Linked DNA regions of Homo sapiens: region 1 is linked to region 2. The links are contacts of gene promoters, found by promoter capture Hi-C in blood cells and fetal thymus (Javierre and others, 2016). All regions are on one chromosome and are shown on one strand. Each heading gives the region's core, a stretch centred on a gene start or on the middle of the fragment in contact. The rest is flanking DNA. Distances are from core to core; before and after follow the strand shown.

Region 1 (4,165 bases), core at 1,240-3,739, 120 kb after region 2:
ATGTTGTTGACATTTTAAAGTAGTCACCAAATATTAGTTGGAAAAAGTATTTTGTTGTTTTCATTTGCTTTTATCTGATTATTAATATACTTGAACATTGTTCTCATGTTTGTGAGCCATTTGTTGCCTCTTTTGTGAAATACCTTTTCATTGTTTTCCTTGTATTTCTATTGGTTGTGTTCTGTTTTTATTTGCATGAAGAAGTGCTTTACCTTTTCTGAAAAAGTGGTTTGGTCAGTTATGTGTGATGCACGTATTTTCATATATCTCCTCCTAGTTTGTGGTTTGTAGCTTTTGTTATATAAGAACCATTCACTGAAGAGTTTTTATTTTAAATGAAATCAAATTGATCAAAATGTACTTTATGTTTTATAAATGTGAGGTCTTGTTGACAAAAATCATTCCCTACTCCAACTCATGAAGATATCTAATATTGCCTTTTAAAATATGATAGAGTTTTGAATTTCACACAGAAGTATTAAGTCACTTGTAATTATTTTTCTCTAAGGTAGGGAGAAGGGATCCATTTTTTTTTTTTCATTTAAATACAAATGGCACCAGCTCCATTTAATGAATAGTTCACCTACGCCACTGCCCAGAAATCTGTTATAAACCAGCTTTTCGTATTTGCCTACATTGGTTTCTGGGTTCTATGTTTTTTTCACTATTATTTGTTCATCCGTGTGCCAATAAGTCTTTTTTTTTTTTTTTTTTTTTTTTTTGAGACGGAGTCGCTCTGTCGCCCAGGCTGGAGTGCGGTGGCCTGATCTCGGCTCACTGCAAGCTCCTCCTCCCGGGCTCAAGTAATTCTCCTGCCTCAGCCTCCCGAGTAGCTGGGACTACAGGCGCCCGCCACCACACCTGGCTAAATTTTTTTATATTTTTGGTAGAGACGGGGGTTTCACCGTGTTAGCCAGGATGGTCTCGATCTTCTGACCTTCTGATCTGCCCGCTTCAGCCTCCCAAAGTGCTGGGATTACAGGCATGAGCCACCGCCCCCGGCCAACCAATAAGTCTTAATTACCATAGTTTTTAAATTAAATCTTTATAGGGTAGGTCCAACTCAATCATCATTCCCACCTCCCACCCACCTATGTGCTTCAGGCGTCTCTTGGCTTGTACTAGTCCCTTCTATTTTCCACATACATTTCAGAATTATATTTTGATATGAAAATTTCTATTGGGATTTTATTGTTTTACTGAATATAAAGGTCTATTTGGGAGCATATTAACATCTTCATAATAATAATTCCTGTACAAGAATGTAATGTTATCCTTCATTTTTAAGGATTTTGTATATGGCAATAACATTGTATATCATTCAATAAGATTTACAATCTCTTATAAGAATTATTTCTAGTTTATATTTTTCTTGGAACTGCATGTGGCATCCTTTAAAATTTTAAATTCCAATTAGTTTTTTTTTAGAGAAACACAATCAGATTTGTATGTTGATTTATATTCACCAAAGCTGCTTTGAATCCTAACAATTTATCAATAGATTTAAGGGGAGAGAGTTTGCATGGATATTCAAATTATCTCCAATATGATAATTTCGCCTCTTTCTTTCAGATCCGTTTTCTTGTCCCAGTGAACAGGTGCACTATGTTGAAATAAGAGTGGTGACGGAGGCCTTGTTTATCTTGTATCTTATTGTAAAAGGTATTCTTTCATCACTTTCCCGTCCATTATGAGATTTTTGTTTGCTCTTGCTTTTTTGGAACCCTTTACTGGGTGAAGGAAATTCTTTTATTTCCTAACTTACAAAGATACATCTAAAACCATGAATAGATATAGACTCTTTTATATTTCCCCTTTTGCACCTATGAAGATGCCCCTATTCTTCTGTAATCTGTTCAATATGAGGAGCTCTATCAGTCATACCCAGAGCATACTCCCTCCTGACTAAAGCAGATACCTGCGCATAGGACTGAGCTATCAGTCTTCACTAGAGGTCTCCAGGTGATTCCAATAGGCAGCCAAGACGGGCCCCCCGGGTGGAGGATCTAGGACGTGCCTCCGCAAATTCTATCACCTGTTAAACATGCCTTTGGTTGCATTTGTTCCACAAATATTTATGGCCTCCCTCAGATTTGAAAGGATCCTTGCCAGGTGGTTATGTAGACTAGACAGCGTATTCCCCTCATGGAGCTTACTGTATAGATGGTTATCCGAAATTGAGATTATTGGTGGAAAACTTCTTTCCCCCGGCACTGCCTAAGTCAATTGTTTTGGAGGTTCTTGGTCAGATGCCCCATGAGCTCCAACATCATAAACGGGGTGTGGACCGTCTCCTAATCAGCAGACCCTGTTTAGTCCTGGGTGAAGAAAGACAATTGGGGCATCTGGGCAGAAACACGCAGGTGCAGCAGTATTTCCCCTCCATCGCGAAGGTCATCAAGAACCCACCTTGGCCAATCAAGAGAGGAGTCAGCTGGCTAATCACCGGGCAGGCACCGCCTTTTTCTTCCCGCTGCCTAGCTTGTTTGCTTTCGACCAGCCAAGGAGACCTGGTGGCAGGGTTGGTGAGTTACCTTTCTGGCCGATTTGTTTGTTTGGATTTTAAGGTCTTTTTTTATTATGTTACATTGGTTCTTTAGCTTTCTCTTTGGTTAGGAGCTGGAAATAATATGATTGGGGAATAAAATGACTAAAGTTCCTAAGGGCAGGCCAAGCTCTGTTACCTTTTTCAAGTTCACATGAGTAAATTTGGGTCATGCTTTTTTTTTTTTTGATAAACTTATTTAAGTTGACAGATAAAATTGCATGTAGTGTGTGCAGCATGATGTTTTGAAGTGTATGTGCACTGTGGGTGGAGTGTTTAAACCTAACTAACTCGTCATCATAGCCTTATGGATGCTATTCTTCTATGTGATGTATAAAGTGTTAGAGATGAAAAGAATATTTTTATTTATTTATTTATTTTGAGACGGAGTCTCGCTCTGTCGCCAAGGCTGGCGTGCAGTGGTGTGATCTCAGCGCACTGCAACCTCTGTCTCCTGGGTTCAAGTGACTCTCCCACCTCAGACTCCCAAGTAGCAGGAATGACAGGCACACGCCAGCATACGTAGCTAATTTTTGTATTTTTAGTAGAGATGGGGTTTCGCCATGTTGTCTAGGCTGGTCTCGAACTCCTGACCTCAAGTAATGTGCCCACCTTGACCTCCCAAAGTGCTGGGATTACAGGCGTGAGCTCCTGCACCCGGTCCTGAGCTCTATTTTAATGTTAATGCCCGTCAGTTGTGCCTAGGCTCCGAAAGGAAGGAGATAGGAGGAGGTTTGACCTCCCTTCCTGCCATAGTCAATGATTCTGTTTTTCAAGTATCTTGGCCAGGAGGGGGTCCGCTCAGTTGGTTGTGGGCGGGGGGGTGGGGGGGATGGGGGGGGTGGGGCGGTGGGTCTTAACATGTTATTTTTAGTTTACAAATTGATTCTTAACTTTGAGTGCTGAATTTACAGGGGGGATTGGAACAATATACTGGTTCCTGGGCCCAACCTCCAAAGTCTCTAATCAGTGTCTGTATTTCGGGACACTGGGGTTTTTGATAACTCCCCAGGTGATTCCCCTGTGTCTCAGTGCTTGAGAAAGTCTGGTCACAGGTGCTTGAAGTGCCCAACTGTGCGGTGATCAGCTAATCTGATGCAACGCCGACTTGGGACGTGCAATGCTGTAGTGTCAGCTTTTTTGCAGGTGTTGGAGATCACCTCATAGTTCAGTTGGCACCTTATAGTTCAGTCAACAGCAAATTCCAGCAACCAACTTAAAAAGCATTGCAGTGTGGTCAGATGAGTGTACAAAAGGTTGGTGTAAAAAAAGTATTTTGCCCTTTGGGAAAAGTAATAAGAGCTTTTAACACACACTCAACGTTGCATTTTTTTTTTTTTTTTTAGGAAGCTAAGAAGCCATCACTAGGCAAAAAGCTTATGGAATTTTCCTTGAATGATCCTATGTCACAGTATGAAATCAGAAACACCTAAAGACTGAGAGGGTCATGATTAAATATTTCTGGTGCATTATTACCAAACCACTTAAAAATCATACCTTAAAGAACACAAGCAAAGCTCATACAACAGTGTTTAGGGAAATATGGACTGTTTGAGTCTAAAGGTAACTACTTTATTAGACAAACATATCACTAGAAAGAAATACAGTTGACTCCTGAAC
Region 2 (4,270 bases), core at 79-2,578:
TATAATACTATACTATCATAAACGGTATGTAAATGTGGTCTCTCTCTGTCTCAGAATATCTCAGTGTACTGTACTCATCTATTTTTGGCCATGATCAACCCAAACTTCAGAAAGCAAAACCTTGGATAAGGGGATGACTGTAGTCCAGCTCTGCTTTATTCATATTGAAGATGAGGTTTTGGATTACAATATCCTCCAGTGGGATTCACCCTTTGTTGCTGCGAAATGGCCTTTTAAAGTGTTTAACCTTCTTGCTTTAAATATAGCACTCCTGACATCACCATAGCTATACCAGCTGTCTTCTGCTGTTTCCATAGCATATGCTTTTCCACTATTTTACTTCCTACTTCTCTATGACTTCATTTAACGTTCACCTCATATAAGCAGTATTCAGTTAAGTTTTTAAAAAATAGGCCCATATGGGCTGGGCACAGTGGCTCACACCTGCAATCCCAGCACTTTGGGGGGCCAAGGCAGGCGGATTACCTGAGGTCAGTAGTTCGAGACCAGCCTGGCCAACATGGTGAAACCCCGTCTCTACTAAAAATAAAAAAAAATTACCCAGGCATGGTGGTGGGTGCCTGTAATCCCAGCTACTCAGGAGGCTGAGGCAGGAGAATCACCTGTACCTGGGAGGCGGGGTTTGCAGTGAGCCGAGATTGTGCCATTGCACTTCAGCCTGGGCAAGAAGAGCGAAACCCCATCTCAGAAAAATAAAATTAAAAAAATGCCCGTATGACAGTCTTTGCCTTTGGGTTAGATCCATTATCTTCCTCCACTGTTTGCTTTCTTGCTCAGAAGGCCAATAAGTGATAGGGGTGGTGACTAGAGTAGTTTAGCTGCCCAGCAGCCAAGCCCACCCCCACTTTATCCACCAGATCAACACTCACCATTTATCTCTCTGCGGACTACAACACACATTTTATCACAGTTCATAATGGCAAAGATGTTCGAAGTCACATCCCAAGCGCGTCGTCCAGGGAAACGCTCTATCAAGAGATGAACCACCTCTGCCCAGCTGGCTGTCTCGACCTGGTCCCAGGTGATGGGCATGGTGCCAGTACTGAGCTCAGTCAGTAAGAGCTGCTTGAACCGTTGTAGCTCCTCATGGCTCACGTTTCTCATGTACAGCATGACCCCATTTTCACATGGGGAGCCGGGGTAGCAAGAGAATGTCCAGGGCGGAATATGAGAACTGTGAGTGGAGGAGGATGAAAAGGGAATGGGGGTGTCAGAGGGTGGATTCACGTCACTCATCTTTAGTCAAGGCAGAGAACACCTCAGTGTCCACGATAAAGACAACCGATTGGAAGAGAGAAACACGAGACCTGCAGAGACATAAAACAATAAAACAAGAAGATGAAAACACTACCCAAGAAAACAGATTCGTGTAATGCTTACTTGGCAGGTATTCTGCGTGCCGGGTACTCCCTTTACCTCCTTTCCTCAAAGATTCTCTGCCCTATGGAAAAACTGAAGATGCATGGAATGTTTGGGATTAGTCCATTAGACTAATGGATTGTTTGTAGTTTCTATTCTCCATGACTTCTTTTGGGGAAGAGGCAAGCAAAATATCAAAGCCTTCACAAAAGGTTTAGCGAAAAGAAAAATTAGAAGCAGGTAAAATAATTCAGTGAAGCTAAAATCTAGAAAATATATGGTTGGTTAGAAGGCTCCATTAGATTAAAAGTGATCTCAAATTCAACAAAGTTTTTATTCTTAAAAAAATGGATCATGTATTAGAGAGATGCAAATCAAAACCACAACGAGATGTCATCTCACACCAGTCAGAATGGTGATTATTAAAAAGTCAAGCAATAACAGATGCTGTATTCTTAAAAAATGGATCATGTATTAGAGAGATGCAAATCAAAACCACAACGAGATGTCATCTCACACCAGTCAGAATGGTGATTATTAAAAAGTCAAGCAATAACAGATGCTGGTGAAGTCGCAGAGAAAAAGGAACACTTATACTCTGTGTGTGGGAGTGTAAATTAGTTCAACTACTCTGGATGACAGTGGGGCAACTCCTCAAAGACCTAAAAAGAGAACTACCATTCAACTCAGCAATCCCATTACTGGATATATATCCAAAGGAATATAAATCATTCTATTATAAAGACACATTCCTGTGTATGTTCATTGCAGCACTACTCACAATAGCAAAGTCATGGAATCAACCTAAATGCCCATCAGTGATAGACCGGATAAAAAAATGTGGTACATAAACACCATGGAATACTATGCAGCCATAAAAAAGAATGAGATCATGACCTTTGCAGGAACATAGATGGAGCCAGAGACCATTATTCCTTAGCAAACTAACACAGGAACAGGAAACCAAATACCACATGTGCTCATTTATAAGTGGTAGCTAAACGATGAGAACACATGGACACATAGAGGGAACACCACACACTGGAGTCTGCTAGAGGCTGGAGGGTGGGAGGAGGGAGAAGATCAGGAAAAATAACTAATGGGTACTGGGATTAATACCTGGGTGATGAGATAACCTGTACAACAAACCCACCCCCATAACACGTTTGCCTATATAACAAACCTGCACATGTACCCCTGTATCTAAAAGAAATGTAAAAAAGAAATAAAATAAAAAGGATCATGGGTGTATTTTTGTCCCCCCTGCCCCAACTTCCAATAATAGTTTATTTATTTATTATTTATTTATTTACTTAGAGACAGAGTCTCACTCTGTTTCCCAGGCTGGAGTGCAGTGGTGTGATCTCGGCTCACTGCAACCTCCACTTCCCTGGTTCAAGCAATTCCCTTGCCTCAGCCCCCTGAGTAGCTGGGATTACAGGCACCTGCCACCATGCCTGGCTAATTTTTTTGTATTTTTAGTATAGATGGGGTTTCACTATGTTGGCCAGGCTGGTCTCAAACTCCTGACCTCAAGTGATCCACCCACCTCAGCCTCCCAAAGTGCTGGGATTACAGGTGTGAGCCACTGCACCTGGCCAATAGCTTCTTCTTTAACACTTCTCCCTCTTATAACTTATGTGACACCCAAACATCTGGATAAACTTGTTTAATTGACTCAGTCCTCCCTTGGGTCCAGAGTAGCTGGGCTTGGTCCCAGGACAAAGGTGATATGCTCCTGGGTGGCTGACTCTTGCTAGTGCTCCTTCCGTCCAGTGGGTGGCGCTGCATGGAGGAGCCTAACACAGTCACACATTTTCTACCTCTACTTATTCCATGACCATTGCTGACCACGTTCCAGCCACAGTGAGCTGCAGCTTTAAGAAATTTGCAGGACTGGCTGGGTGCGGTGGCTCACGCCTGTAATCCCAGCACTTTGGGAGGCCAAGACAGGTGGATCACTTCAGGCCAGGAGTTCCAGACCAGCCTGGCCAACATGGTGAAACCCTGCCTCTATTAAAAACACAAAAAGTAGCTGGGCGTGGTGGTGGGTGCCTGTAATCCCAGCTACTCGGGAGGCTGAGGCAGGAGAATTGCTTGAACCCAGGAGGCAGAGGTTGCAATGAGTGGATATCATGCCACTGCACTCCAGCCAGGGTGATAGAGCAAGACCCTGTCTCAAAAAAAAAAAAAAAAAAAAAAAAAAGAAAAGAAAGAAAGAAAGGAAAAGAAAAGAAATTTGCAGGGCAAGGGAGGATGTTGGCAGTTACATCATCGTTTTGCTTTACTTTCATTCACTGCTGAAGGGAACATAAGCAGGGGGAACCTATCTGAAAGGCCTTTTCACAATACTACCAATCGTGTGCACTGCCATGGAATTCAGTAGTTCTACTCCTAAAACTGCAACCTGAGGCCAGGTGTGGTGGCTCATGCCTGTAATTTCAGCACTTTGGGAGGCTGAGGTGGGAGGATCACGAGGTCAAGAGATTGAGACCATCCTGGCCAACATGGTGAAAACCCGTCTCTACTTAAAAAAAAAAAAAAAAAAAACAAATATTGGCTGGGCGTGGTGGCATGCACCTGTAGTCCCAGCTACTTGGGAAGCTGAGGCAGGAGAATCACTTGAAACCAAGAGGGGGAGTTTGCAGTGAGTGAGCCAAGATCCCGCCACTGCACTCCAGCCTGGGCAACAGAGCGAGACTCCATCTCAAAAAAAACAAAAACAAAAAAGGCCAGGCGTGGTGGCTCACGCATGTAATCTCAGCAATTTGGGAGGCTGAGGTGGGCAGATCACAAGATCAGGAGATTGAGACCATCCTGGCTAACACGGTGAAACCCCGTCTCTACTAAAAATACAAAAACTTAGCCGGGCATGGTGGCAGATGCCTGT

What was found. The method cuts DNA at HindIII sites, captures the fragments that hold promoters and counts their contacts. A CHiCAGO score of 5 or more calls a contact.
Region 1: the fragment with the promoter of NLRP11 here is called in contact with the fragment with the promoter of NLRP8 in region 2 in 1 of 17 cell types (erythroblasts); the score reaches 5.4 in erythroblasts.

Annotation. Positions count from the first base shown.
Region 1 is chr19:55,830,323-55,834,487 of GRCh38, reverse strand. NLRP11 (NLR family pyrin domain containing 11) reads left to right here and starts at 2,489. Exons shown (of 10, transcript NM_001394894.2): 1 at 2,489-2,525. The HindIII fragment of the contact is 8,930 bases long and covers 1-3,923 here.
Region 2 is chr19:55,944,890-55,949,159 of GRCh38, reverse strand. It overlaps NLRP8 (NLR family pyrin domain containing 8), which reads right to left and starts at 1,328. Exons shown (of 10, transcript NM_001433706.1): 1 at 891-1,328. The coding sequence starts at 1,257. The HindIII fragment of the contact is 8,931 bases long and covers 1-4,270 here.